Linked DNA regions of Homo sapiens: regions 2, 3, 4, 5 and 6 are each linked to region 1. Evidence: promoter capture Hi-C in 16 types of primary human blood cells and fetal thymus (Javierre and others, 2016). All regions are on one chromosome and are shown on one strand. Each heading gives the region's core, a stretch centred on a gene start or on the middle of the fragment in contact. The rest is flanking DNA. Distances are from core to core; before and after follow the strand shown.

Region 1 (4,647 bases), core at 1,573-4,072:
AATATAAGACAATGTAAGTATGGACCACTAGTTATGTTGAAACTCAGACCCTCTGAGGATGCAAAAGAGAACCAGCAAGTATGCATCCTTCAAGCTGAGTAAAAGCTAAACAAACATACATCGGATAGAAACAAACAACAATAAAATCCTTATGGCTTTGTTGATCACTGTGGTGTTTAATTGACTCTATTTTAAGACTTTTCTACACTTAGCCCTCTCTCCCTACTCAAGGTGCAGCAAATCACTTTTTTGTTAATAATGCATGTCTGGATCTTATCTTGGCTGTGTCTGTATTGCAGTCAATGGTTCAAGTCCTCAAGGCCACTGCCAGCACCCTGGCACATGGGGGCCCTCTGCTGTCTTTGTTGTCCTGTTGACTGCTAAAGAACTCAGGCTAACAATGTTACTACCCACATTCATGAGTTACTTGTTGCTGGTTGTCATCTGTTGCCTTTCAAGTCTTTTCTGGAATCTAATTGTTTTTTGTTTGTTTGTTTGTTTTGTTTTGTTTTTGGTCTGGAACCCAGAAGACATTTATCTAATAAAATATTAGGTGATAATTTCCTAAGAATTTCAACAGATTTAAACATTTTGTCTTTAACATGGGTGAGTTAAAATCACTTACACTATACAAAAGTTAAGCATGTTTCCATCACCACTTTTCAGATAATAAAACCTCTTTCATTTCCGTGTCCATGGGGAACTATGCACCCTAAGGTCCTCCACACGTGGGAGGGGAGAATCTGTTCAGGAACTCTCTGAAGTCAGTATTCATCAAGAAATGGGTATTTGGGATGATCACACCACATGAGCATTTCTATGAAGCGGACATTTTCACTCCAGGCTTCAATGTCCTTGATTCAGTGAGAGAAAAGTCAAAGGCCTGAAGGTTTTCCTTGATCTTTTCAGGATTAAAGCTTTTAGGAATGACAACCACCCCTTGCTGGATGTTGAAACGCAAAATAACTTGAGCTGTGATCTTATTGCACCTTTTTAGAAGTGCATCCTTTAACGAAGGCAGAGAAGACATATTTGTCCAGGTTGGATTCCTAGTGGTCCCCAAAGGGCTATATGCAATCATGACAATGTCATGTTGTTGGCGAAATTTCAAAAGTTTTGGTTGGGTGTAATATGGGTGGCACTCAACCTCGTTGCTGACTGGCTTGGGTTTGAGTCCTGGGTTGTTCTGGATGAGCTCCAGCTGGCCTGCTGTTAAAACTGGATACTCCGAGGGATTTCACCAAGCCAGCATCTTTACAAGCTTCCGAAGTCTCCCAAGTGGCACACAGATTTGACTTGTGATATAACCATTTGCCATTCTCACCTATAGGGTAGATTTTGTCTTCTGGCTTAGCGGCCATGGGTATTTCAGTGATGTAAAGATCCACACAATCTAGCTGGAGGACCTTGAGCATCCTCTCTAGGCTCGGGCAGACCAGCTCTGGGTTGTGATTTGTAGCCCACAGTTTTCCACAGTAGAAGATATCCTTCCTCTGCACCTTTCCTTCTGCTATTTTCCCCCTGATGGCCTCCCCAGCTGTGTCTTCATTTTGGTATATGTAGGCTTCATCAGTGTGTCAGCACCCCAGACCAATGACAACCTTCACTGATGAAGACTCAGACTAAATGTAGAGACAGACTACTTGGGCTGTAGTGACATCTCTACCTACCACCTACTTGCTGTGTGGCCTTGAGTAAGTCATCGGCCCCCTTAGGGGTCAATTTAGGCTCTGAGTAGGTACCAAGTCTGATGATGGGAATGCTGTTTCCATCACTTAGAGGTATGCGGTGATTTGCAGGACTCACTTTCTTCATAGTGTCCTTTGATGCACAAAAACTTTTAATTGTGATGAAGTCCAATTTATCAATTTTATGTTGGATTGCTGTGACTTTGGATTATTGGCTATTCTTGTACATTAATTTTTTTCATATCAATTTTGGAATCAGCTTAACTTGTTCTAAAACTTTTTGTTGGTATTTTCAATGAAATAGATTGATTAATTAAGAGAGAATGGTGGTCTCCTTAAAAGAGAGCTTCCTATCAAAGAAGGGTATGCCTTTCCATTTACCCAAGTCCTTTCGGCGTTCTTCAGCAATGTTTTAAAGTTTGTTTCATATAGATATATTACAATTTTTAGACGAAGTTTATGTCTAGGTTTTAATGTTTTATTATTGTAAATTACTCTGGTGTTTAAATGTTGACAACTAACACAAGTGTTTAAAATACTATGTGAGCTACAGTATTTCACACAATGATCCAAATTCAGGCCAAGTTCAGATCTGCAACCTCAGATCTACTCCAGCTCTTTGCTTTATAGATAAGGAAGCTGAAGTCTAGAGATGTTGAGTGACTGACTCAACGCCACACAGCAAGTAGGTGGTAGGCAGAGATGTCACTAAAGCCCAAGGAATCTGTCTCTACATTTGTCCTGGACTCTAATCCAGGGTTCTGTCATTTTGCCAGCCACCATAAAATATTTGACAGTCTAGGAAAACAGCAAATGTTCTTACATCCATCGAGAACTTGTATTTGCCTAGAGATGGACTTTACCAATCAAGATAGGAATTAGATAAGAATTATTTTTTTTAAAAAAAGGAGCATTAAAACAATGGTCAAATGAGAGAAAAAGCAAAATTCAGACAGACAGATACATACACACACCCCAAACCCTCAAACCTCCAGGGCTTCCTGCCTGTGAACCGAAAGGGGGAGTGCGAATTTCTTGGCCCTGTCGGCAGGTGCTTTCTCAAAGGCCCCACAGTCCTCCACTTCCTGGGGAGGTAGCTGCAGAATAAAACCAGCAGAGACTCCTTTTCTCCTAACCGTCCCGGCCACCGCTGCCTCAGCCTCTGCCTCCCAGCCTCTTTCTGAGGGAAAGGACAAGATGAAGTGGAAGGCGCTTTTCACCGCGGCCATCCTGCAGGCACAGTTGCCGATTACAGGTAGGGCCGACGTGTCGACGGCAGGGAACTTCTAGAAACTCTTTGTGTATGTGTAGGGGAGTGGGTGTGGGTAGTGGAGGGTGGTGAGGGGCTGGGGTCTCCTTCAAATCCTGCCCTCCTCAAATCAATGGGCAAGTGAGCAGTGAGGGGTCCGGCCCGGTGCTGGCATCTGCTCCGTCACAGCCGAGTTGGGCATCAGTTCAGAGCCAGCTGCTAGAATACACAGCTCCTCCAGGTACAGATTTTTCGAGTGATAAGAGAGGAAGGAAGAAGGAAGCAAGAGAGCAACCGAGGCAGGCCCAGGGTAGAGAAACGGAGAGGGAGTGTTTCACAGAAGCTGGACAGGATCGGAAAATGTCAGCCAGGCCATGTTTCGTGCTGCGACGTTCTAGTCCCTTCAGCTTCTTTCACCCTCTGGCTGGCTCCGTCACTCAGCCCCTTTCTTTCTTCCTTTGCCAACAAAGAAGATTTTGTTGGTCAGTCAAGGTCATGGCCTGAAACACTCCAATGGGCCCGGGAGTAAGTGGGGTAACCAAGGAGGAGAGGGGCACAGGCAGGAAGCACCGGGTGGCAGCCTCCACAGCGCCTTCGCCACCTCATGGCCAAGCGTCCGTGTCTAGGCTCAGCCTTGTCATGGCTGTCCCCACACCCACGCCTGGGACTGCCGGGTGACGCACCATCCCAGGCTCCGTGACTCACCCCAGCCTGCCCCTTAGGCGGCCATCTAGCCCAGCCAGAGGGCCCGGCATTGACAGAACACGGGGCAGATGAGACGATGTGCCTGGTTAAGTCACCACCACGAGCAGCGCCCAGCCAACAAGAGTGCTTGCTCCTCACCTCATTCCCGATCGTGGGAGCCCAGCTTTGCTGCAAGCCTTTAGCTTCCACCATGTTTTCTAGCCCAGGTAATGAGGAAGAAAACCAGTGAAAAGAGGACAGGACAAACTGCTCAGGGGGATCAGCCTCGTGGCATCTTCCTGAGAAGTGGGGCAGGCTGAATTTCAATCTAAAGAAACAGGGAAGGTGAAGCAAGCAAATGTCCTCGGCCCACCTGATCGCTCCTGGTAACTCACCTGGGTGTGGGAATTTGTTTAGGGGCCCTGTTGGGAGGGCAGGAGAGGCCATGGGCACTTCTGCTCCCACCAGGGAGCCAGGCACAGCCCGGGCCAGCGCCTCGGGGGATTCTGAGGCCCGTGCAGCTGCAGGGGTTTCTGTCAGGTCACAGCTGTTTTCTCAGAAAAGCCTTGTGGGGTCTAAGTCACACACACAGTGTGGCAGAGTGAGGGTGCCTGAGCTTGCTCAGAGCAGCCCATCCTTGTGTGCTGGGGACAAGGGGACCCAGAACGCTGGAATTTAGTGACTTCAGGGGAGACAGCCAGGGGCAATAGCTCCAGCCTCTGAGCTTCAGGCTTGAGACACCACACCAGGGAGCTCATATAACCTTTCAGGGTCTTTACCTGCAGTTTCCTCACTGGTCCATTTGTGTTCGGCTTGGAGAGACCAAGGTAGGGGCAAAGTGAAGTTAGAAAGAAAAATGAAAGATTGTTGGGTGGCGGTGGCTGCCAAGCGTGGTAAACAGAACCCCACCCAGCAGACAAGATGGGGGCCGTGCCTCATTTCCACAAATAGGGGGCAGGAGGAGAAAACTGCACATTGGCTGGATTTTTTGCTTCTCAGTGCCACTTACTTTGCCTCTATGGAGAC
Region 2 (4,647 bases), core at 1,422-3,921, 660 kb after region 1:
AAATATCAGTAGCACAGAAGGTTTTATGATAAAAGCTTGTTCCCACCCCTAGACCTATTCCCAAAGGCAACTACTTTTTGTTTTTTGTTCTTCTGGTGGGACCTCTTTAGCCCTCATAGTTGCTTAAATCTGTTTCTGGATTAACTGATTTTAACATCTCTGTCTTATTGCTCTGTGTTTGAGATTTCCTGAACTCTTTGGGCCTTTCTGTTGAATGCATTCTTTAATTCAGCAATTTTAATAGCATCTTGTTTCATGGATGAACATGTTCTGAAAGTTTTCTGCGGATACCTGTTGGAAATTTATCAGAATTCTTTTGCATTTCCTGTCTAGGACCTCTTTTTTTTTATTTTTATTTTTTTAGCTTGCTCTTTCTTGTCATGTGAAAGAATATTGTCAAATATCTGGTGATTAATTATTGTCCTTTTCATGTTTAAGAATGAAGCATAAAACTGCCTGGAGACTTTGCTTTAGAGTAAGCTGACAGGAAGCCTACTGTTAAACTGGGGGTCTCCCAAATTCCCATATACAGAGAGCTTTGCTGTAGGGTACCAACATCCATACCAGCTACCTTAGTAAATCCCAGAAATTGTGTTCGGTTTAACTAGAGAAGAGTCCTTATTCCCTCCCCACCTTCCTTCTAACCCCCTGACTTAGCTATTATAAATACCCTGCTCTGTGTCATTCTGTGCATGGGAATGAGCCTTCCTGGGCCTGTGACCTGCATTGCACAGAAGGGCCCTGCACTTGGTTTGTACCATCATTATCTTGAAATTCTTAATTTTTAAACACGAGGCCCAGCACTTTGATTTTGTACTGAACCCAGTTTTGGGGGTGAGTGAATGGGTTTGTGTGGATGATTTAAGGATATAGACATTCCATTAATTTTGTTTTTAGCCTTACAGATCCCTCCTGGTTTCCACTCACTCACATTCTCCCAATCCAGGTTGTGGGTTTCTTCCAGGCAGGTTGACGTGCTTCTGCCTCACTTGCCACCTTCCTTGCCTAGCCTAGGTTACAGCTTCTATGGGTCTGCTTCACGAGTCTGCACCCTTTTAGTCCATCCTAGAAATTTGTTGACATCTCATCGTGTCTGCCACTCATTTTCCTTTTTAACCTCTGTTGTGCAAGTGTGCCATTTACCTTCCTTACTTTCATATTTTGTAGCGTCTTGGGAGAGGAGATAAATACATGTGCTCAGTTCATCATCTTAGACCAGCAAATTCTGTCCTACATCTATAATAATACTACTGCTAATAAACAAAACACCCAATAAACATTAATTGAAAATATAAAAAAATTTGTCTTCCTAAAAAAATTTTAGTTGCAGCTAGGAAAAAAATGTGATTTGAGAGGATCGATAATTTTATTTAGAGAAGTAGAAAGAGAAGGTTTTGATTTAAGCATTCATTAGTTATTTGCATTTCATGAGCATTCCATGCTTTTTACCCCAAATGAAAACAAACTTAGCAGTTATCAGTTGTCATTATTTTTACTTATGGTTATATATTTCTGTCTCCTAGATGGTGCTGGATCTTTGCCTTGGCCAGGGGGTTCCGCAGCAAAACCTGGAAAACCCAAGGGAAAGAAAAAGCTTTCTTCTGTTCGTCAGAAATTTGATGTAGGTTGTTCTTTAATAGGTCTTGATAATGACTGATTGAAGTAGTGGCATGTTGGGACTAGCTTTAGTTTTTAAATGAATATTAAAATACTGGTAGTAGAGTTGAAAAAAAGGAGTATGATTTGGGAAGAAAAGCGTTTCAAGGATTGTGAGTTCTAGGTGTCTGAATTTTTATAGTTCTTGTTTGTTACTGCTTAAATAGTAATGTTATCATTAGTACCTAATGATTTTTCAGTTATTCAAAACAATGCTTTTGTCTCTCCTGTTAAGTATTTTTCTTGAATGAATAATGTTTCTTGGATGAAGACATCTGTCTCAAGGGCTCAGGCAGCCTGGAGGCCTTTAATGGGGTCCTGGTGATGTCCAGCTGGGCCCTGAGCCTTTTGAGGACTAGTAGAGATGTCATGAAGGCATTTGGCTATAAAATTTGTAAGCATTTTAAAACAAATTGCTTTTTTCAGTGTATATTTAGGGAAAAAAACTTCCCCGAAGTAACCCTTTTATAGGTTTATGGGGTATTGATAGCTTTATTGATTAACATCAATAAACAATTATTTATTTTCACCTTGACTATATGCTTTATATCAGTAAGAATGTAGAGGCCATTGGGATCTCTAGAGAGACATGTCTGATTTAAAAAGAGATGTTCAATATAAAGTAGTTTTATACTTGGAAAATGGAAAAATAACCATGTTGTTTTCATAATATCAATTTCAAACAGGGACAAACCATCTTCACTACAAAATCTTTTATATTAGCCTTAAGCAAAAGGTACTGGGGCATAACTCCAGGTGGTGATGGAGAACATGAATGGGCTATCAGAATCTCCCTGAGGAAGGCTGAGATTTTATGAATGAAAAAGACTGAGAAAAATAGTCATGACTGTATCTTAGGTTCTGTGTTGAGAATTCTAAGTAGAAAATAACAGCAATTAAGTAGTTACTCTACATAGCATTATCTTGGAATATTTGTTACTAGATCTGCCATATTGGTTAGCTAGGCTTTTTAAGATTTAATTGAATCATTCATTATATGTTTATACTTTTAGAACCTACTTACGGTTAGATTTAAAATGCTCTGATTTGTTTGAATATAGTTCAATACTTCTCCTTCTCTTTCAGTTATTTTTAACACAGTGCCATACATTCTGTGATCACCAAGGTATTAATTGAATAGAATAAACTACTACGCAAACTACCATTATTCCCCTTAATCCATGTCTTCATTATTACCTTGTATTGGATGTGAATCTGTGATTATTTGTGCATGAATTAACTCTTTTTTCCCTTAACCCCTGTGGTATAGTTTTGGTGGCATTAATTTGGAGGATCTCAACTTCAGTACAGGAGTTTACTTTGTGTCTTGTTTGCTACTGTAATGAGTAATTTTAAAAAGTTTTTCTTACTCATAGCATAGATTCCAGCCTCAAAATCCTCTCTCAGGAGCCCAGCAATTTGTGGCAAAGGATCCCCAAGATGATGACGACTTGAAACTTTGTTCCCACACAATGATGCTTCCCACTCGAGGCCAGCTTGAAGGGAGAATGATAGTGACTGCTTATGAGCATGGGCTGGACAATGTCACCGAGGAGGCTGTTTCAGCTGTTGTCTATGCTGTGGAGGTTGGTTTGCTGTTGGCAGAAATAATCTTACAGGTTGAATGTGATAGGCTTGTGTGTTGTTTAAAGTCGGTATTGCAAGAAAAGAATCCAAATGTCACTCTGATTTCACAGAATTGTCATTGTTGAAGTTGTTTTCTGTTTTTTTTGAGACAGCATCACTTTGTCTCCCAGGCTGGAGTGCAGTGGCACGATCATGGCTCACTGCAACCTGGAAATCCTGGGCTCAAGCGATCCTCCTGCCTCAGCCTCTCAAGAGCTGGGAGTATAGACGTGCGCCACCATACTCAGCTAATTTAAAAAAAAAAAATTTTTTAGGGATGGGGGTCTCTCTCTCTTGCCTAACTGGTCTCGAATTCATGGGCTCAAGTGATCTTCCCGCCTTGGCCTCCCAAGGTGCTGGGATTTACATGTGTGAGCCATAGCACCTGGCTAAAAGTTGTTTTCTTTTAAGAGGAGAAACTCATTATAATCCAAATAGTTGTCTTCAGTTAATAGACTAAGCTTTTCAGAAAGGTTATTTATGGCATAACTCTTCTGGTTGATCTGATGTTTTGTCAACAGGGGAATGGTTTTTAAGGAAAGAAATGAAATTGAGAATCCTATAGATTAAAGTCACTTGTTTTTGCTGTGATACAGCACTGAAGAGTATTAGTCTTGGCATCTGAACAGCAGAATTCTTGTCTCTGCTCATGATTTCATTTGTCCATTCATTTTATTCATTTAGTTACTTGACAAAACTAATTTGATGGGGTCTATAATGCACGAGTATGGTCAGGTGACATTGGATTTTCAATTCTCTGAGCCCTATTTTCTTCATCTGTACTTCAAAAATAATAACAGTTGTCCCATGAAGTTATAAACATTAAATGAATTCTGCGTGCAAACCAATTTAAATAGTACAATAATGTCTTGATATAAGTGGATTTTCCTTGGTATAATTGAAACACCCTGCCTGATGCTGGCTCCCCTATTAATAATGGTAGCCTGGGACGAGTTCTGTCACTCTATTTTCACAGGCTTCCTCAACCTTTTCTTATATACTTGGCTCTCATGAAAGTGAAGAGAAATCAAGTACCTAATTTATTTTGTGCTTATTTCCTATATATCTGTTGTTTATGTGGCTTTTGAGAGAGCCAAGGTTCTTTTCACGCAAGGATTTTGGTTCCAATAATATCAGATCTTAAAACTTTTTGTCCTATTTTAAACAAAGTTTCAGCATAGTTTGTCTCTTTTTAAAAAGTCATTTTTGCTCATGCCTGTAATCCCAGCACTTTGGGAGGCTGAGATGGGCGGGTCACCTGAGGTCAGAAGTTCGAGACCAGCCTGGCCAACATGGTGAAACCTTGCCTCTACTAAAAATAAAAAATTAGCCAGGCTTGGTGGTGGGCACCTGTAATCCCAACTA
Region 3 (4,647 bases), core at 1,499-3,998, 630 kb after region 1:
ATAATTCACAATTCACAAATAACATAGATTAAGACAAGCACAAGCTTTATTTGGTCATTTCTGCTCATGACTGCACCAGATAGGAACAGCCTTTCATTCAAAGATGTTAGCATCCAATATAACACACATCACATATGCGGCCCAGTGTCCTGGACCTCTGATCCCCAGGCTGCTTGGTTGTTTGGAGAGACTACTCATACATTTCTTCCCTGCAGCAACCATGAAGACCTCTGTCCAACACTTATAGCCCAAGAGAAACACATATATTTGGGAGTGAAACTTGGTTTTAATGGGGAATTTGATTAGGGATTGAATTATTTGATTATTGCCAATATGTGGCAAATGTGACTTCCTTAATGAGTACAGCTGAGGTTGCATTCATCATTATGTCCAAATAATAATGTCTCTTTGCCCCTCCATCTGCACGCAGAACTTCCAGCCTCACTTTCAGGGGCACTGAGAACTTCAGCAGTCGTGGCATCTGAAGGGGTTCACACAGGGTTTAGGCCAGTCTGTAACAGCACTGTGTTTCTGCCACTGCCTGGCTCTGGTCACTGCTCACGCCACTGCCAACCCTGTCCTGCAGTGTCCAGCCACCATGTAGGCTTAAACAAAGTGACTGCTTCTCTTTTATCTGTTCACCTTTAGGCTCTTCCCTAATTCCCTACGCACAACTGAAAGTAGATTGTCACATATTAGGTGTGAATTTTCTTTTTCTTTTCTTTTCTTTTTTTTTTTTTTTTTTTTTTTGAGGTGGAGTCTCACTCTGTCGCCCAGGCCAGGCTGGAGTGCAGTGGCGTGATCTCTGCTCACTGCAACCTCTGCCTCCCTGGTTCAAGCGATCCACCTGACTCAGCCTCCTGAGTAGCTGGGATTGCAGGCATGCGCCACCATGCCTGGCTAATTTTTTTTTTTTTTTTTTTTTAATAGAGACGGGGTTTCACCATGTTGGTCAGGCTGGTCTCGAACTCTTGACCTTGTGATCCACCTGCCTCGGCCTCCCAAAGTGGTGGGATTACAGGTGTGAGCCACGGCACCTAGCCAGGTGTGAATTTTCTTAAAGCGTCGGGATAGCCAAAGGGAAACTCATAGCTGGTTACCAGAGGAGACTGCTTTGGGGAACAAGGCCCAGGCTCAACCACCTCCATGTGAGTGAGGCCAGTTTATCTCCATCCTGGAATGCCCTCAACAAGAATCTATAACTTTTTATAAAATGATTCTGTAAAATTGGTTTCTGATTTGAGCCATAGCAAACATCTTGGAATTTGCCTCCTTTAATTCAGTGTACTTAATGTTTAGGCTCTCCAGGAATGTTTGGGGTTCCCAGCCCACAGGGGTCCTCTGCCCTGGCTGATGTGGTAGGTGTCCTGCATCTATCAGCCTGTCACATAGGTGCCCTATTGCTTATTAAATAAGGTTTAGGGGGAAAACTATGAGGAATGGTTGCGCATTAGAATCTCTGGAGGGCTTTGAAAAATAGTGATACCTGGATTCCATTCCCCAGACATTCTAGTTTAATCGTTCTGGGGAACGGCCAGAGCATGGAATTTCTAAAAATTCTCCCAAGTGATTCTAACACCGAAGTTGAGAACCATTGCTCTTATGAAAGCTATTGTAGGGTGAATTAAGTAGAAATAATCTGTTCAAGCAAGCAAATTCCAGTAATCTCCTTTGGTTATATCTGGCTCCAGAAATGATGGGCAGACACTGCATGTTTTCTGTAGTCCCCCTTGGGCTCTCCATAGCAACCAGATGGAATGGATTCCATTGCCCTGGCCTGGTTGGTTCCACAGTATCCCCTACCTAACATGGAAATTGTTGGAATAGACTAGACATTAATTTGTGTGGACATGTTAAGTGTTTCATAAATGTCTCCTAACATCATTATTATCTGTTGAGAAGCTGGCTCTGCTTGGCATTAGAACATACACAGACAGTTCCTTCTTTCCATTGTCCTCTTTTCTGCATATAGTGGAAAAGGTTGAGGCTCCTATTATTGGCATTCTGCAAAAACCTGCCATGCAGGCCTAAAGCAATACAAGTACTTTGAGGTTTGAGGCTACCCAGGAGTCCGTTATATCTAGCAGTGACCGCCATTACTATTTTGTATTGGGTAGTCATCCCTCAGGTTGAAATCACTGCCATGGAAGCAGCCAAATTTCATGACCCTGGTTTACACCAGCTGTCACCCTCTTCACAGGCAAATGGAACATCACAGGCTTCCAACAGATTCTAATAATGCAGAAGTAGCAAAGGGCACACTTCTGGAATTTTTTGTTTGAAGTTGCAAGCCCCGCAAATCCTACTAGGAAACAGAGCAAAGCCAGCTGGGTTAGGATCTACCATAAAGGTACAGTTCCACAAAGTCCATTTTAAATAACATATGGAAATTGCAGTAGTCCTAGTTTCATGTGGGTGAGACCTGCCTCATCTTCTTGAACTGGGGTCAACCATTCAGATACTATTTTCTAGGTTTGTACTCTACAAAACAATTGGTAACTTGGGGAAAGCAATAAACTCAGGTGTCATATATTTGTAATTAAAAAAGACAGGACTGGGTACAGTGGCTTACACCTGTAATCCCAGCGCTTTAGGAGGCTGAGATTGGCCAACTGCTTGAGCCTAGCAGTTCAAGACTACCCTGGGCAACACAGAAAGTCCCCTCATCTCTACAAAAGAAAAAAAAAGAACTGGGCATGGTGGTACACACCTGTAGTCCCAGCGGCTTGGGAGGCTGAGGTGAGAGGATCACTTGAGCCCAGGAGATCGAGGGCTGCAGTGAGCCATGATTGTGCCATTGTACTCCAGGCTGGGCAACAGAGCAAGATCCTGTCTCCAAAAAAAAAATCCATCTCTATAAAAAATAAAATTAACCAGGTGACAGATCAAGAGGAGAAGGAGGAGGAGGGGAAGGAGGGAGAGGAAGAAAAAGAAAACAAAAAAGATTATTCTGCCTAAATCTCTTACCTATCTGATGTGCATCTAGTGAGGACAGTGCAGCCTGTAGAGGGGGAGTCTCTCAAAATGTGGGTGCAGGGCATGCGTGAGCTCCATCCCCACAGTGTGCAGAAATCATGGAGCTGCAGGGAGGTGTAGTAGAATGTGGATGGTTGAAAGGATGGCATCAGCTACATTGGTTGGAGGGCATCAGGGAGTTTTCAGACCATTCCAGCTTGTCTCAGATGAAATCTTTAGGAAGAAATGGACAGGGGCACTCACACTAGAGTAAGCAGTAGAACATGGTAGCTAGAGTATGAGTTCTGGAATGGGGCTTACTGGGCTTATGTCCAGTTCTACTAGATGTGTAACTGTGGGCAATTTTCTTAACTCTCTATGATTTAGTTTATCTCCCTGTAAAATGGGAGTAACAATAGTAGTACCTACCTTGTGGGGGGTTGTGGCAAGGATTTTAAATCATCGCCAAAAAACATATTCAGTACAATGCTTGGCAGATATTAAGTGCTCACTGGAGTTAACATATTTTTGTGGTTATTGTGGCAAAATGGACTCTGGTGTCAGTGAGATCTAGGTTCCAGTCTTAACTCTGCCACTTCCTGTGTAACCTAGAGCAACTGAACTTTCCTGAGTCTCAGTTCCCTCACTTATGGCCTGGGGATAGCAGCAATTCAAACCTCACTGGATTATGGTTTGGGCTAAAGGAGGTAATGTAGTAGACCCACTTCGTAGCAGGGAGTTCGTACATATCAGCTGTTGTTATTTCCTAGAGCCTGATGAGAAAGAGCTCACAATGGGTTGCACTCTACTCTCTTCCTCACTCAGGACCCAAGGTGGGTGGTAGGGTGGGGGAGAGGGTAAACTCTACAGGTGGCCTCTGTATGCCCTGCCTTTACACTCAACTGCTGTCAGGCCCCTTTGGTCCGCAGCTCCCAGGTTGTCCCCAAATGTGACAATTCGTCAATTTCTTCCTGTAGGTAACAACCCTGCCTGTAATATGTCAATGATTTTGAGTCTATCCCTGCCGTTATTGGAGGGTCTGAAAGTGGCACCTTTGGACAACCAAGATATTTTATGAGTCCAAGGGGTAGGACTTCCCAGGGTCCGCAGAAGAAATGCTCAAGCGTCAGGTGGCCACCAGAGACCTGCTGCCGGTGGCCAAGGGTATCATCCCGGGCCAAGGCTCCAGGTTGGGACGCGGAGACCCACGACCCTCCTTGGGATCCCGGGCATCCTGGAGGAAAGGTGAGGGCGCATCACCCCCTGGCGGCAGCCGGGCAGACTCCAACCGGCCGAGGTGATGCTGCGCTCAGGGCCGTCTCTTCTTCCTCTAGCGAAGGCAAGCGGTGCTGCTGCAGAGACATTTCGCTCGCGCCGGGGCCAGCTCTGCATTCTCGCTTCGTTTCTCGGACAACAGCCGCTTTAGTGCTAAGAGCAGCACCGTGCCGCCCGCCCATCCCGACCCCAAAGCCAACTAATCCTCCCACACCCGCTTTCTGCAGGCGGCGGGGTTTTCCAGCTGAGAGGCCGTGAGCGCCTAGAGTTGGGTGACCACAGGGAGAGTCCTTCCTGAGGGACAAGGGCCACCCGCGCCGCCCGCGCCGCCAGAGCCGGTGAGTTCCTGAACCTGAGAGAACCTAGGACGCACCTGGGCAGGTGCCTGGGTGGCGGCCCTTGAGAGTCAACATAAGT
Region 4 (4,647 bases), core at 552-3,051, 610 kb after region 1:
CATACAATTACTATTCCCAGGCTCTAGAGAACCATAAAAAAGTATAAGCTATGTGTATAAGTTAGAGACATCAGGGTTGGACATCTCAGAGGGGCCTGGAAAACATCCTGTCGAGGTAGAGGGAAGGGTAAACCACTGAACTACTAGAGAAAGCTACTTAATCTCTGGTAGACCCTGGGTCTGCTCCCTCTCCACCATATCTTAGCCTCAGTTTCATTTAGTCTAAAAGGTAACAAATCAGTGTGATAGGCAGAAAATTTAAATGTTATGAGCACTCCTCAAACTCTTTCTCCTTCAGTGCATACCAAATGCTGAACAGCTGGCTCAGCTTCTGCAATTTTGTGGTATTAAATGATTTAATGGGTTCACAAGGAAAGAATCCAGTGGAACCTGGCTTGGCTCAATTGATTTACATGGAGCCAGCTGACCGTGGGAGAGAAGAGGATGAAAGAGATCATGGCCAGAATGGGCTAGCAGAGTTTGGAGAGGAAAAAAAATAGATTTTGAGTATAACCAGTATTTATACGAGATTTTGAGAGAGAGATAAAAAGAAGCTTTTAAAGTTTTTAAACTTTTATTATGAATACAATCCCCTTTGGGATTTTTGAGAGACTTTAGAATGTGCAATATAGGGCCATAGGTTAAACTGGTTATAACAATATTTAAAAGTCTCCTTTCTGAGTAAGACCTTTATCTTGTTACCTAGCACAAAGGGATTTTTTCTTTTGCAGTTTTTTTGAGGAGGTGTCTCCATGCTTGGCATGAAAACCAGGGGAGGAAAATACAAGATGCCCTACTGTGTACAGTGAAGTGGGGTTTTGGAAGATGTGCTCCAGAGAACGGCGTCTGGGCCCCCACAATCTCCCCATGTTGCACAGACTCTCTCTGACTCCTGTGATCTGGCCCTGGCTGTCCTGGAATACTACCCTCTACTCCAACAGAATTTTTAATTGTTCCACAGTGTATTTATGTACATTGTTATCTGAGCCTCTGAGTAAAGCAAAACAGGCATGATTTTCTCTGTTTTACAGATCCAATAGTCAAGACCACAAAGAGGGGAATGACTTCTCAAGGTGACTTAGAAAATAGCAACAAACAGCAGTGGAATTGGAGCTAGCATCCAGATCTCCTGAATCCTTGTTCATTATTCCCCATGACACTCAGTTCTTGCTTTGTAAACAACTATGGAGATTGTAGAAGCTCATATGAAAAGGGGGTGCAATGAACAAGAAGTGTAGATTAAAGAAGTGTGGAACCTTGAGTGTCAATTGATACAGTGCAAGCCATGTGGCTGCCTGCCTACTAACATGCAGTGGTAAGAAGGGCCTGCAGATCCACTGGCAGGGGGCAGGTTCAGAGTCACACCCAAGAGAGATCTATAGATGAGGGCAATGGGCCAGATCTAACAAGATGAAATGAGAAGGGATAAATGCAAAATCTCACATTTTGATCTGAGAGATAATTGCACAAGGACAAGATGGGGAGATATTGCTTAGGAGAGTCTTATCCTTTTATTCAAGTTATTTTAAAAAGTATTTGTTGGGCACTAATTATGTCTATACAATGGTTTGGCACTGAGCTTACAGCAGTGAATAAGATTAAGACAAATAAGGCCCCCTACCCTTATGGAGTTCAAATTCCAGCGAGGGAGACAGCCAATACACAAATACTCAAATGATTTCATAAAAGGATCAGTGTTGAAAATAACTCAGGATCATGGACATTGACTGTTAAGAGGAGGAAAATATTAGAAGGGTGGTCAGAGAAGGCCTCTCAAAGGATGGGACATTTTCAAACTGTTACTTGAAGGATAAGAAGAAACTGAGATTGAGAGGACCATCGGGCAGAGTTCCAAGGAAAGGGAGAACAAGTGAACAGTGCTTGAGGTAGGCATGATTTCAGAATGTTTGAGGAACAGAAGGGAAGCCATCATGGTTCAAAATTAGTGAACAAGGAAGGACATAGGAGCTGATGTTGAAGAGGCTGCAGGGGCCCCCAACATCACCTAGATCATTTAGGCTGAGAAGGCCATTATAAAGATGCCAGAGTGCTAGGCACCCTCCCCAAATCTCTTCTCTTTTTTGTCCTTAGAAAAAGGTTCTTATCTGGATAGCTAACCAGAGACTAAATTTCCCAGCCTTCCTTATTGTGAGTTGTGGCCATGTGACTAGAGTTATCACCAGAGCAATGTGAACAGAAGAGATACGTGCAACACCCACCTTACTTGACTGAAGGGAAATTACTTGCCTTTAACTTCCTTCCCTTGAGTGACCAACCATGCAAATAAGGACAATGTACTAGCCTTAGGCATGGTGGAGCAACAAGATGGGAGGAACCTGGCTCCCAAATGACCTCATGGAGAACTGGCCTGCCTGGCTGGACTAAGTGAAAGAGAAATACACTTCTCTCTTATTTAAGCCACTGCATTTTGAGGTCTTTATTATAGTGATATAGTCTTTACTGTAATTAAATCAATGAGAAATGTGGACTTTTTTCTAAGTTGGAAACCATTAGAAAGTTTCAAACAGATGAATGATGTGGCCTATGTTTGAAAAAGACCATTCTGACTTCTGTATGGAGAACAGATTACAGGAAGACGAGAGTGGAAGAAGTGAGAACAGTTGGAGGGCGAATGCAGATTTTGTGTGGGGGACAATGGAATAAGACGATGGCAGTGGAGAAGGATATACAGGATAGATTATGAATGTATTTTGGAGGTAGAGAAAATAGGCTTGTTGATTTATTCAATTTTGGAGACAGTGAAGGAAAAGGAAAAAAAAATGATTCCTAGGTCTTTGACTTGAATAACTAATGAAACAGCAGTGGAATTTCTTGAGGTGGACAAAACTGAAGTGCAGGGTAGGATAGGATGCTTTGACTGCAAAACAAACAAAACTCAGAAAACTTGACATAAACTGGCAAAAACAATAAGGACATTTATTAGCCTACAAAATGTAGAATGGGCTACAATAATTGGTTGTTCCAAAAGTTTAAATATGTTGCCAATATCTTTTTAACTCTACTCTTTGCCATTCAAGTTTAAGCTTCATTCTAATGCTGGTTCCTCTTGTGGTCGGTGACTGAGACAATGTGTTTCCTCACTCACCTCCAACAAGGAAGAGAGAAGTCATTTCTCTAATTATATAATACAAGTCTTTGTAGCCTGAACTTTCTGACTTAGCTTGTCATGTTCTGATTGGCTTAGATGAATAAGGAATAGGCTTGGAGTTACTGCCCTCTGATTGGCTTAGATGAATAAGGAATAGGCCTGGAGTTACTGCTCTCTGAGTCATAGCTGTTGCATAGAGGGCAGTATATGACACCCAGGCAAATTCAGGTTCTGTTGGGAAGGACAGGAAGAAGGGTTGATTCAGAGTTTATGTTATGCACTTTAGCTTTTTATTTCTTCTTCCTAATCTGTAAAGTGGGGAGAGAGACATGTGCAGCCTTGGCAGACAGAGGAGGTCCAGGATCTCACAGAAAAAGAGAGACTTTTGCATCTGTCAAAAGAAAGAAACTGGCTGGGCCTGGTGGCTCATGCCTCTAATCCCAGCACTTTGGGAGGCCAAGGCGGGTGTATCACCTGAGGTCGGGAGTTTGAGACCGGCCTGACCAACATGGAGAAACCTCATATCTACTAAAAATGAAAAATTAGCCGGGCATGCTGGCACATGCCTGTAATCCCTGCTACTCGGGAGGCTGAGGCGGGAGAATCGCCTGAACCCGGGAGGCGGAGGTTGCAGTGAGCCGAGATCACGCCACTGCACTCCAGCTAAAATCTCTCTGGCACCAAGGAGGAAGGTCACTCCTAATATCAAAGGGACCCATACGACAAAACTGCTGCATGGATGAGGTAATGTGAATGTCAGTGGCTGTATTTTGTTAACACAGATATCTGTCTGCAACCAATGAGACTAAGCAGCCTTGTGGGGGAACTAGGGAAGAAGGCAGAAAAATAAAACCCTGCTGGCCCTGGTTTTTGTGTTTTAGAAATCCAGTCTTTTGGCCTGTGAGAGAATGATCACAGAAGATTCTAAAACTGTCTCCCTTTTGGAAGTCACGTCTATAACATTTGAGAAATCAGCCCTTGAATATAAAAAAAACAAATTGGGACAGTGCCATTGAGGGCAAAAGGAGCCTTGGTTCAGGATGAGGGAGGGAAGAGGAGAGGACCAGCAAGAATAATGTCTTGGTGTCAAAGCCTCACCTGCTCTCCAGGCAGACAGATTCTCTGGTTGGGGGGCTTTCTTGCTTGTCATTCTATGAATAAGGAACTTGTTCAAAAGCTGTTCATAGTTGGCCATGGAGATGAGCTGTAGGAGAAGTTCTTAGTTAATGTTTGTAATAACCCCGAGGGACCTAGTGATTGTAAGGTTGATGGGGATCCGGCCATCTGTTCTCCCCCAAGAGGAAGGGAGCAGAGTTTATTTTCAATCGTTGTTGTTGCTGCCAAGAACCTGAGAAACTCGGGGAATGTGGAGCATTTGAGGCATGCTCAATTAGTTTGTGTTAGATATACAGAGTGTGAGCCCCTTGTAGCCACAGACTATACTTCCAGGCCACCAACTCTGATTGCTAAAAATGGAAGGTGACCAAAGAGACCAGGCAAAGCTATAAAGCTATTGGGGCTTTGCTTCTGCTTTTGAA
Region 5 (4,647 bases), core at 991-3,490, 590 kb after region 1:
AATCAAATCTGTATCATAATGAGGAGTGTAATTTGTTATAATGACATAGAAAACTATGCTCTAGTCCAAGTGGCAATTAACTGAGGATCCTCCAGCTGCTTCTCAGGGTGGCAGCCATCTCTCACCGACCATGTCTGTCTGCCAGGGCACAGCTGGTACATTGTTCCATATAGCAACAACTTTATGGGCCCCCTCCCCCATGACCTCTAGTGCAGTATCACTGAATGTTTACCATAACAGTGCTTCAGAAATTAGAACACCTAGATAAAACCACAGCTCCAGGTAGGGTAGGCCCTTTTCATAATGCATACAGACATGCTAGTTTTCCTTAAAAAAATTAATAATAATAATAATCATGATACCCAGACTTTTCTACGATCCAAGCCTTTCCCTTCCTGATCAAAATTCTCCAATAAACCGCCCATATGGCCTCATCTGCTATATGTTGTAGTCTCTTATAATATGGTTTCTATTCCCAGTTTCTCCTCATTCATTCACTCATTCCTTCATTCATTACAAACACACATATTTCAAATGTCTACAATGTGCCAGGCTCTATGCTAGGTGCTGGGGATACAGAAGCGAACCTAGTCCTTGCTCTCAGGAAGTTTGCAGTCTAGAGGGGAAAACTCTACTGAAAATGCACTTCTCAAAGAAACCATTAACCCTGCCCCAATTCCCAGGCTGACAGCAATGCAACGAACATTTTTTAAGTTCCCCACTATGTGTAAAGCATGGTTTTAGGCACATGGAGATCCAGAACCATAAGGATTCTTTTCCTTCAAGAATCTTTGAGAAGATTAGACATTTATACAGATAACTTGAAACAAACTAGAATATATTAAGGGCCATAATAAAATTCAAACTGAATGATTTGTAAGTTAGAGAGAGAGACAGAACTTTTCAAGCTATGAGAATCAAAGAAAGCCCTTTGGCTGAGGCAGCATTTGAGCAGCTCCTGATAATGATAGAGAACTCAAAGTGCTCCACTGATTTGGTCTTAGTTGTCCTCTCATCTTTAAGAGATTATTTAAAGGTTGGCAAGTATTCATTGCATTTTATAGACATGAAAACTGAGTCCTACATAGGTCACCATTTCTTTGAGGTCCCTCAATAAATAGCACTGCATGCCTACACAATGCCCAGTTCCCCACTTCCCAGGCTGGAGTCTCATCCATCAGACATAACTGCCTCCAGAACAGACATAGCAGTTCTGTGGGATAATTGCATTTTAATTGAACTGTCTGTACGACTCAGTAAATGCCTTTGTAGAGATGGAAGAATGTTTAGCTTGATAAATAAAATTATTTCTGCTAATCATTGCTTCCACACAAGGATTATGGATCTAACCTCTGGGAGAAAGTGCCACTAAAAAGTGTGTGCTGAGATTCATTAATTTTTTTTCTAAGTAATTCCACAATTTGAGATGAATGTGGACTGCCCAGTATATTCTCATATAGAAAATCGGTGCACCTGCAAATGGGTGTGTGGGTGACTTCTGTTTTTAGTGCTTGGACTACAATTAGAGTGCTATGGAATTTTATATTTTAATCTTCCATGTAAATAGCTTGCGTGGGAGGGTTTTGTCCGCAGCCAGGGTAACATGGCCAGACACTATACAGCAGGGTTTTCTCTGAATTTACATGCAGTCATATGGTTTCTTTATGGTGTTTGCCCCACTTTGGGAACAGGGAATGCTGGAGTTAGGTCACTAGCTTACATCCCATTGAAAAGTCCTTAATAGCTGGAATATAGGACCATGCTGTGCAGACCATACAACCCATGGCATAGCTAAAGCAGTTCTTACTCTGGGCTTTCCTTCCTTGTTTTTCTCACCTGTCTCTTCTCACTACCTCTCTTCTTAGACTCTAGAGAGGCAAGATGCCCAAATATGGTTAAGCTTCCATCAGACTACATGGTTCCAGCCCTGGCACTGCTAAATTTTTCCTGGGCAAGTTATGAAACCCCTCTGACCCAAAATTTTCTCAAACATAAAATGTGGCTGATAACAGTACTGTTTTAGGTGGTTCTGAGGAACAAATGTCCATGTAAAGCATTTAGCACAGTACCTAGCACATTTTCAGTGCCCAGTAAGTACTGACTAATTACCATTATTTTTCAGTACCCATCCCATCATTCCCTTCTCTCTTTCGTTTTTTCCTCTTTCTCTTATCTGTAAATTAGGCCCACTGGTATCTATCACTCTTGGGGCTGGTATTGGGCTAGACTGATACTTAAGTGATATGGGGCTTAAACAGCCTTTGTCTCTGACAATATGAGTGATAGAGATGTAGGAGATGTTCTCTCTCCTGCTTTAGTTTTGTTTTTTATTAAGCCCTGAAAATAACAGCTGCTTGTAACCACATCGCAGCAGGTCAAATTAATCATGTCTAAAACACAGTATTCCTTCTCCTAAAAGGAAAATGCTAAAGAAATGAAATGGAACCATAATTAAAAATCCACATAGTTTGAATTTTGTTTTGTACTACTATGTATATGGTCTAGAAATTAATATTAGCTCTTATACACAACTCAGTTTAAGGAACTTTTGCATTATCTCCTAGGCAACTCAAAGCTTTCAGGCCAACTTTGTCAAGGCCCTTGATGTTTGAGTATCTGTAAGTTACCTGTGCTCTCACAAAGTGAAGGTGGGATCCTCAGATGCTAGAGTGACGCATGTCCTCAATCTAGAAAGTGGTCTTTTTTTAGTGTGAATATGCTCCTCCAATGGAACGCAAAAGCGCTGAGAAGATGAGCACTAAGTGGAGCTGTAAGAGGTCAAAAGATAGGAAGCAGAAGTTAACAAATGACTAAAAATAGACTGTAATGGAATTTTGTTGTTGACCTTTAGGTCCTCCATTCCAGTGGCGCCATCTGATAAAGGGGATCACAGATATGGTCCCATATGTATAAATATAGATCGTTATTTCTGGGTGATTTCAAAAAGAGTTGTTATAATTGGAAACCCTATTTTCTACTTGGTAAAATAAATGGAGGCCTCCTTCTCCTGATATTTTCCTTTTTCAGCTCACCTTCTTGTGCTTTTCTCAACAGTTCGCAAAGGTTACCGGATCCAGGCTGACAAAGAGAGAGACTCCATGAAGGTCCTGTACTATGTTGAGAAGGAGCTGGCTCAGTTTGATCCAGCCAGAAGGATGAGAGGCAGATGTGAGCATCTGTTAGTTTTCTGTGATCTGTGCATTATGCAGGAGTTAGTGTGTAAAGGGGATTTGGGGGTCACCAAACTTGGGCAGCCCTGAGCTTGCAGGCTTAGAATTAGCAGGGGTGCTGGTGACACTACTGAAGAAAGTAGCTCTCAGTACACAGAGGGGAAAAAAAGGTCTTCTGGTGTGAAGAGTAGAGCAATTCGGTAGCATCTTGGTTTATGTTGGTTTTCTCCATGGGGCAGTCAGTATTTCTGGGGCTGTGTTATCCATGCCCCATGGATAGAACCAACATTCTTTGAATATATTTTATTCAAACTTTCTTTGAATAAAGAACCAACTTTCTTTGAATATATTTTAAAAGGAGTAGAAGGGAAAGACTATTTTAATAAAGCATTCCAAATAGTCTTTCCCTTCTACTCCCTTTAAAATATATTCAAAGTAATGTCTTAAGATGTGGAAGCTTAAGTATCAGTTTTTTCCAACGTGAAGGGTGCTAGCCTTGGATAATACAACCACCAACTCGCTGCATGGAGGCCTCCTGAAAGTGAAAGAACAAGTCTGGCACGTGAATCTGGAAAAAAGGTTGTTGCTCCTCGAAGATGCCAAACAACAGAGATTAAGGGGCAAGCAAAGAGGCTGATCCTCTTGTCAAAAGAACTTTTTGAATACTAAGTCTGAGGTGGCCGGGCCCCAACCCTTAACTCACCCCCAGCCCTTGGATACTCTGCAGCTGACACAGCTGATTCTTGGGGTGGATTCCAACTTATGTATCATGGGAGGTAACATAGGGCAGGTCCCACATGGACAGGCTCATTATCAGAGGGTGCTGGCGGGTGTGGAAGTGAGGTCATTATGCTGTCTCTTTACCCTCCTCTTCTTGGAACTAACGAGAGACTTGACGGAATTGTTGGGGAAACAGTCCCAGACTAGAAGAGCTTTATTCAGATTAAGGACAACATATTCCACCCAGTTTGCAATTCTAAATTCATCCTGTCTGCGTTGTATCCATTGCTGTATCCTCCCACCACACCGACTATAAAAAGACCATTTCCAGATTGGAATGTCAGGAATGCAGATGTCACTGCACTTGACAAGCTAGTTGTAACAATGTTGTCATGGATCCCTGTAAGGGGCCAGAGACAGAGTGAGTCAGGGACCACAGAGGAGTCTGTGCAGGAAATTTGCGAATCTCACAGCTCAGAGAAAAAGTTAACAGCTAAGGTTAAAACTAAAGGAAGAATTCTGGTTTAGGTGATGTCTCCTGTCTCTCTACTTCATTAAAATGGTCTCTAGGGGCTTAATGGTCATAAGGTAATGGACTCTTAGAGTCAAAGGGGGTCTTAGAGATGGCCTAGGTTAACCTTTGTAGTGTGCAGGTGAGGAAACAGAAGCCTAGGGATGCGGTGACACAATTAGGACCAGATTCCAGCTCTTCTGATTCCCAGTCCTGTGGTCTTTCCAGAAGAAACTCTTGGGCAAA
Region 6 (4,647 bases), core at 1,167-3,666, 540 kb after region 1:
TTTTTGAGACAGGGTCTCACTCTGTCACCCAGGCTGGAGTCCAGTAGCGTGGTCACAGCTCACTGCAGCCTCAACCTCCCAGGTTCAAGTGGTCCTCCCATCTTAGCCTCCAGAGTAGCTGGGACTACAGGTATGTACAACCACGCCTGGCAATTTTTGTATTTTTTGTAGAGATGGGGTTTCACCATGTTACTCAGGCTGGTCAAATTCCTGAGCTCAAGCAATCCGCCCACCTCAGCTTCCCGAAGTGCTGAGATTACAGGTGTGAGCCACTGCACCTGGCCAAAATGCCACTGTTATGTGTGCTTAGATAATAAACACTATTCAAGCTCTTTTGTGCACTGTGACACACACACATAGATGCAGTAAATGGCACAGCATAATACAAATATATCATCTCAATCTTCTGGTGTAGATGTTCTTTTTGTGGTGCAAACAGTATATGCTTTAGAGTCAGATTCAAATCCTAGCTCTGCCACTTACTAGTTGCCTGATCTTAGAGAAGTTAGTTAAATGCTCTGGGCCTAAGTTCCCTCTTTAGGGTTAAATGAGAAGGTTTGTTAAACATGTAGAACTCTGCCTAGAACCTAAAGGAAACCCACAAGTGTTAGGTACCTCCTATATTTTTATTTTTCTGTATATGAAAGGAAATAGTCCTCAAATTTCTCTCATGCAGTACATAGCATGAAAAAATCATCCTGGCCAAAATAAGCAAAGAAAGAGTTTATGAAAGGATATTGGGTGGCTCAAAGAATTGCTGGGGAAGTGAAGAGCCAAGTGTAGAAGAGAGGCTAGAACCCAGAGAGCCTGCAAGACCACAGCCAAAAATCACACCTTGGAGCATCCTGGTGGCTTGACCTCTGCCACAGCTGATCATGTACACTGGATGCTGCTGCTGCCTCAGTGACAAAATCAATTCTCCACTGTCCTTGTTTCTTATATCCACCACTTGCTCCAGAATCAAAAAGCTCTGAGGGAGAGGTCAGCCTGGCTATGCCAGGGGCCCGGGCCTGCATTCCAGCTGGGATGGTCAGGGAGGTGGCTCTAGACTTTCTGGCTTCTGCAGTTGGAATTTCTCAGAATAAGAAGGGAATTGAGATGTCAGGCAGCCATAAAAGACAGCTGCCCAGGGTCTATTCTTCCCATTTCTCACATGTTCACATACATATTCTCCCTGTCTGTGTACACATTCACTCTTAGGTGTGGAGTCTGTCTGCTCCAGGAACTCCCCTCCAGCCTGGCACCACTCTGTTTTCAGATGCTACTTGAGACCTTTCTGCTATGTCTCTTTCCTCTGCCCAGAATGCCCTCGCCTGCCCCCTTTCCACCAGGGATCCTTGAATGGCTCAAATCTTGTGCTTTCTGCAAATGCCAGCTCAGATGTTACCCCTCCTTTATCGTGGTGCCCCCTCCCCACCCACGACTAACTTAGTCCTTCCTCTATGTTCCCAAGGCACTTTCTCTATGTCTCCATTATTGCACTTGCCCCGTTTTACTAGGAATAAGTATCATGTCTTTAATGGTCTGACCTTCCTCCCTTTCCTCGACCCAAGATGAGGCTCCTAAGGGCAGGAAGTCTATCTCATTCCACTTTGTAACCTTAGTTCTTAGCACCTAGTAGAGGCTTCATAAATATATTTCTTAAGCAAATCATACATTTCTCAGTTCTCTCTCAACACATACATTTTGAGACACAAGACAAATCCGTCTGACAAATAGGAATAATCCATGTGAATGCGTGCTGGAATCTATAAAGTGTTGGATGGATTTAAGCCGTTATAATCATTTATCTCATTCTGGTTTTACATATTTTCTGTTAAAGGGCCGGATGCCCTTATTCTACCTCATATTTTAACAGGAAAAAGTAATGACGCGAGATTCCCGCCTACCTTTTTCAATTCTGCGGAGCCTCTTGCCTGGTTCCTTGCACTGTCAAAAAGGAAACCAGACGGAGGGGCGGGGGTACCGCAGAAGCGAACATTCTAGCCTAGAGGACTTGCTAGTTAAGTCCTGTAAGAAGTTACGCCAAGTCCCCGCCGTCCCCCACCCTCGCCGCTGTCACTCTCTCCCCGTTCAGGTTGGCTGTGGCTGCCCGCAGACACAGGCTCCCCTGCTCGAGTCCCCAGCCAGCGTTCTCGCCCGGGTTCCCGAGCGCGGGCGTCCCTGGGAGAAGCCGCGATGGTCGCTCCCCGCTCGGCGCGGCCCGCGGGGCGGCCTCCCCCGCGCCTCTCGCTGCCTGCCACCCAGAGACCCCCTCTCTCCGCGTGGCCTCAATCACTCCACGCTGACCTTTGGGCCGCCGGGGGCCAGCACGTGACCGAGAAACTTTGGCAGTCGCGGCAGCGGGCGGCGGGGCGGAGGCGCGGGAGGCGGTGCGGCGGCCGAGCTCCCCCGCGCGGCGGGCTCTGCGGCGGGGAGACGCTCGCCCCGTGCCGCGCTGCCTGGGCATGCGGATGCGCCGCCGAGCGCTGCGCGGACCCCGGAAGCCCGCGGCAGCGCGCGCTCAGCCGGCGGCGCGATCCAGCCCCCGGCCCCGCCTGCGCGGCCGGCCCGGCGGGCGCTGCGCCCAGGGACGCCCGGTGCCCGCCGCTCCGCCGCCGCCCGCTGCCGCGGGGTGACAGCGATCCTTCTGTTCCAGCCATTTCCCACTTTCCTCACTCCGTAATTCGGCTGGGAAGTTGGGGAAGATGGATAGGGTCTTGCTGAGGTGGATTTCTCTCTTCTGGCTAACAGGTAAGAGTCCTTTTCAACAGAAACGAATAACTTTGTATATTCCTGTAGTGGTTCTGTTCTCACCGCGCCCCCCGCCCCCCCATTTTCCTCCTTACTGACCATGTTTAAAGCTGCTTAGCGGTCTGGTGGAAAGTGGGGGAGGGGGCAACGTGTGTGTTTGTGTATGTGTTTGTGTGTGTGTGTGTGAGAGAGAGAGAGAGAGAATGATGGGGGCGGCGGGGGAGAAGCCCAATGACAAGTGAGACGCATCTAGATGCAGGTGTTTGACTCATTGGCGCTGAGGTTGTTCTTTCGAATGCATTTCCCCTCCATAAAACGGTTCTCCTTCGGTCTTATCCTGAGTTTGTAATGCTGTGAGTCTTGTGAAAAGCCTGGCTGGAATAAAGGAAGCTCAGAGGGAGCTGATTAATTAAATGAACTGGTTTTCTGGAGGTGGAGGCTAGAGGACTGTCTCCTTAATTTCTTCCCTAGAGAAGGAGGGGGACCCAGGGCATTCTCTCTGTGGCTCTCTGGAGGGTGCAAGGAACTGGAGGTTGGGAAGAAGATGGGGATGGAACCTTCACTGGTTGTGGAGTTTAGAGCCTGGCTCTCTCTTACTTGGTATCATTTGGGGAGTGGTCCCAAATGATAATTAGAAAGCAGAAGAGCCTTTCTAATAGGTGCACTCTCCGCTCCCTAAAAGATAATTTGCAGAGAGATTTAGAGGCATTGGGCTTCTCCCCAGCATCAAAGTCACTGGTCTAGCTGGGTCCTCTGTGCCCTCCCCTCCTTTTTGGTGAACTTTCTCCCCATTCTGCTGGGGTCAGTAGATGCTCTTGTTCTTAACCTATTTCCCCACATGAGGATTCCGATTCCCATAGGGATACAGGGCCTTGGGGTGGCCAGCCCTGAGAGATTCACAAAGCAGCCCTGCTGAAGGGAGTAGGATGGGGGTGAGGAATGTCTGGATAGCTTGGACTGGGTCAGAGGCAACCATTCAAATCAAGGTGGAGGCAGAATGATGGAAGAAATGGAAAAAGGGATCAGAAAGGTGAGGACAGGATGGGGGTGGAAGGCAGGAGAGAAAAGGGACAATAGTACCACATGAGAAGTTTTGTCACCTCTAGCATCACCAGCCAGAAGATCTGGACAAAATCAAGGCACTAGGCAAAGGGGAACAAGCTTAAAATAGCTAAAACAAGTCATGTAAAGGGGGTAAAATACATTTAGCAAGAAAAGGCAAATACCCCATTTCCCTTAGCTTCAGAATAAGATTCTTCATTGCCTAAATATTTTTCCCATTTCAAATGAAATGCCCCTAACATTGCCGTTGCCCCACTGCTGGGTTTAGGCTGGGGGAGGCATCCTCAGCAGAGTTAGCCTCTTCTTTTGGCTGCTTTGAGTTCATCCCTCCCACATTATTCAGATATGAATCATCTCTAATTTCAGGGTTTGGCTGATCCATGCCACCCCGCTCCCCTGGCCTCCCAGTGCCTTCCACTCCCACCCTCACTGATTCTTCACATCCTTAATCTGCCTCTACTCTCGGTTATCAATATTCTCAGGGCACTTAGTCCTTGAGCCTGTATCACAACAGCACTGAAGTCAGCCAGGCATCGGGGGGGGGGGGGAGGGGTCCCTGAGTCAGAGGTGCTCTTTACAGACACGCTGGGGTCTGCCTAAAAGAAGTACTCTGGGGGTTTGCAGGGAGTGAGAGAAGAAGGGAAACATAGAGCTCTCTTTAGATGGCTCACAGCTTTTTATGAAATGGAATCATATCACTGGAGGGTACTACAGGAACTGTAGTTCAGCCCTCTCAGTTTATAGAGATGGAGTCCTAGAGAGGCAATATGCACATAGCACGTTCATGATTGATTAGGGACTAGATTCCAGTTCTCTCAAACTCCAGACCAGTCTCATTTGCCCTCTCCTAAG

The links. Contacts are between HindIII fragments. The CHiCAGO score rates a contact against its expected background, and 5 or more counts as called.
Region 2: a fragment that was not itself captured here is called in contact with the fragment with the promoter of CD247 in region 1 in 1 of 17 cell types (fetal thymus); the score reaches 5.2 in fetal thymus.
Region 3: a fragment that was not itself captured here is called in contact with the fragment with the promoter of CD247 in region 1 in 1 of 17 cell types (fetal thymus); the score reaches 5.5 in fetal thymus.
Region 4: a contact is called between a fragment that was not itself captured here and the fragment with the promoter of CD247 in region 1, in 1 of 17 cell types (total B cells). The highest score is 5.9, in total B cells.
Region 5: a fragment that was not itself captured here is called in contact with the fragment with the promoter of CD247 in region 1 in 1 of 17 cell types (total B cells); the score reaches 5.3 in total B cells.
Region 6: the fragment with the promoter of ILDR2 here is called in contact with the fragment with the promoter of CD247 in region 1 in 10 of 17 cell types (activated CD4 T cells, fetal thymus, total B cells and 7 more); the score reaches 11.3 in activated CD4 T cells.

The regions. Positions count from the first base shown.
Region 1 is chr1:167,516,704-167,521,350 of GRCh38, reverse strand. It overlaps CD247 (CD247 molecule), which reads left to right and starts at 2,822. Exons shown (of 8, transcript NM_198053.3): 1 at 2,822-2,943. The coding sequence starts at 2,886. It also overlaps the pseudogene AKR1D1P1. RefSeq lists enhancers at 2,991-4,190, 3,462-4,425. The HindIII fragment of the contact is 3,961 bases long and covers 1,264-4,647 here.
Region 2 is chr1:166,860,798-166,865,444 of GRCh38, reverse strand. TADA1 (transcriptional adaptor 1) reads left to right here. Exons shown (of 8, transcript NM_053053.4): 4 at 1,524-1,621; 5 at 3,033-3,242. Among named protein-coding and RNA genes, the nearest start is that of TADA1, 13 kb to the left of the region's middle. The HindIII fragment of the contact is 2,149 bases long and covers 1,597-3,745 here.
Region 3 is chr1:166,884,058-166,888,704 of GRCh38, reverse strand. No RefSeq gene overlaps it. Among named protein-coding and RNA genes, the nearest start is that of TADA1, 10 kb to the right of the region's middle. RefSeq lists enhancers at 3,990-4,489, 4,490-4,647. The HindIII fragment of the contact is 5,404 bases long and covers 47-4,647 here.
Region 4 is chr1:166,901,032-166,905,678 of GRCh38, reverse strand. It overlaps a transcript of ILDR2 not described here. Among named protein-coding and RNA genes, the nearest start is that of TADA1, 27 kb to the right of the region's middle. RefSeq lists an enhancer at 3,183-3,683. The HindIII fragment of the contact is 2,490 bases long and covers 557-3,046 here.
Region 5 is chr1:166,925,588-166,930,234 of GRCh38, reverse strand. It overlaps ILDR2 (immunoglobulin like domain containing receptor 2), which reads left to right. Exons shown (of 10, transcript NM_199351.3): 7 at 3,055-3,168. LOC124904449 (a long non-coding RNA gene) reads right to left here and starts at 3,064. Exons shown (of 3, transcript XR_007066714.1): 1 at 2,628-3,064. The HindIII fragment of the contact is 675 bases long and covers 1,903-2,577 here.
Region 6 is chr1:166,973,309-166,977,955 of GRCh38, reverse strand. It overlaps ILDR2 (immunoglobulin like domain containing receptor 2), which reads left to right and starts at 2,416. Exons shown (of 10, transcript NM_199351.3): 1 at 2,416-2,733. The coding sequence starts at 2,688. It also overlaps a transcript of MAEL not described here. RefSeq lists silencers at 1,997-2,046, 2,167-2,456, 2,517-2,566. The HindIII fragment of the contact is 7,595 bases long and covers 1-3,896 here.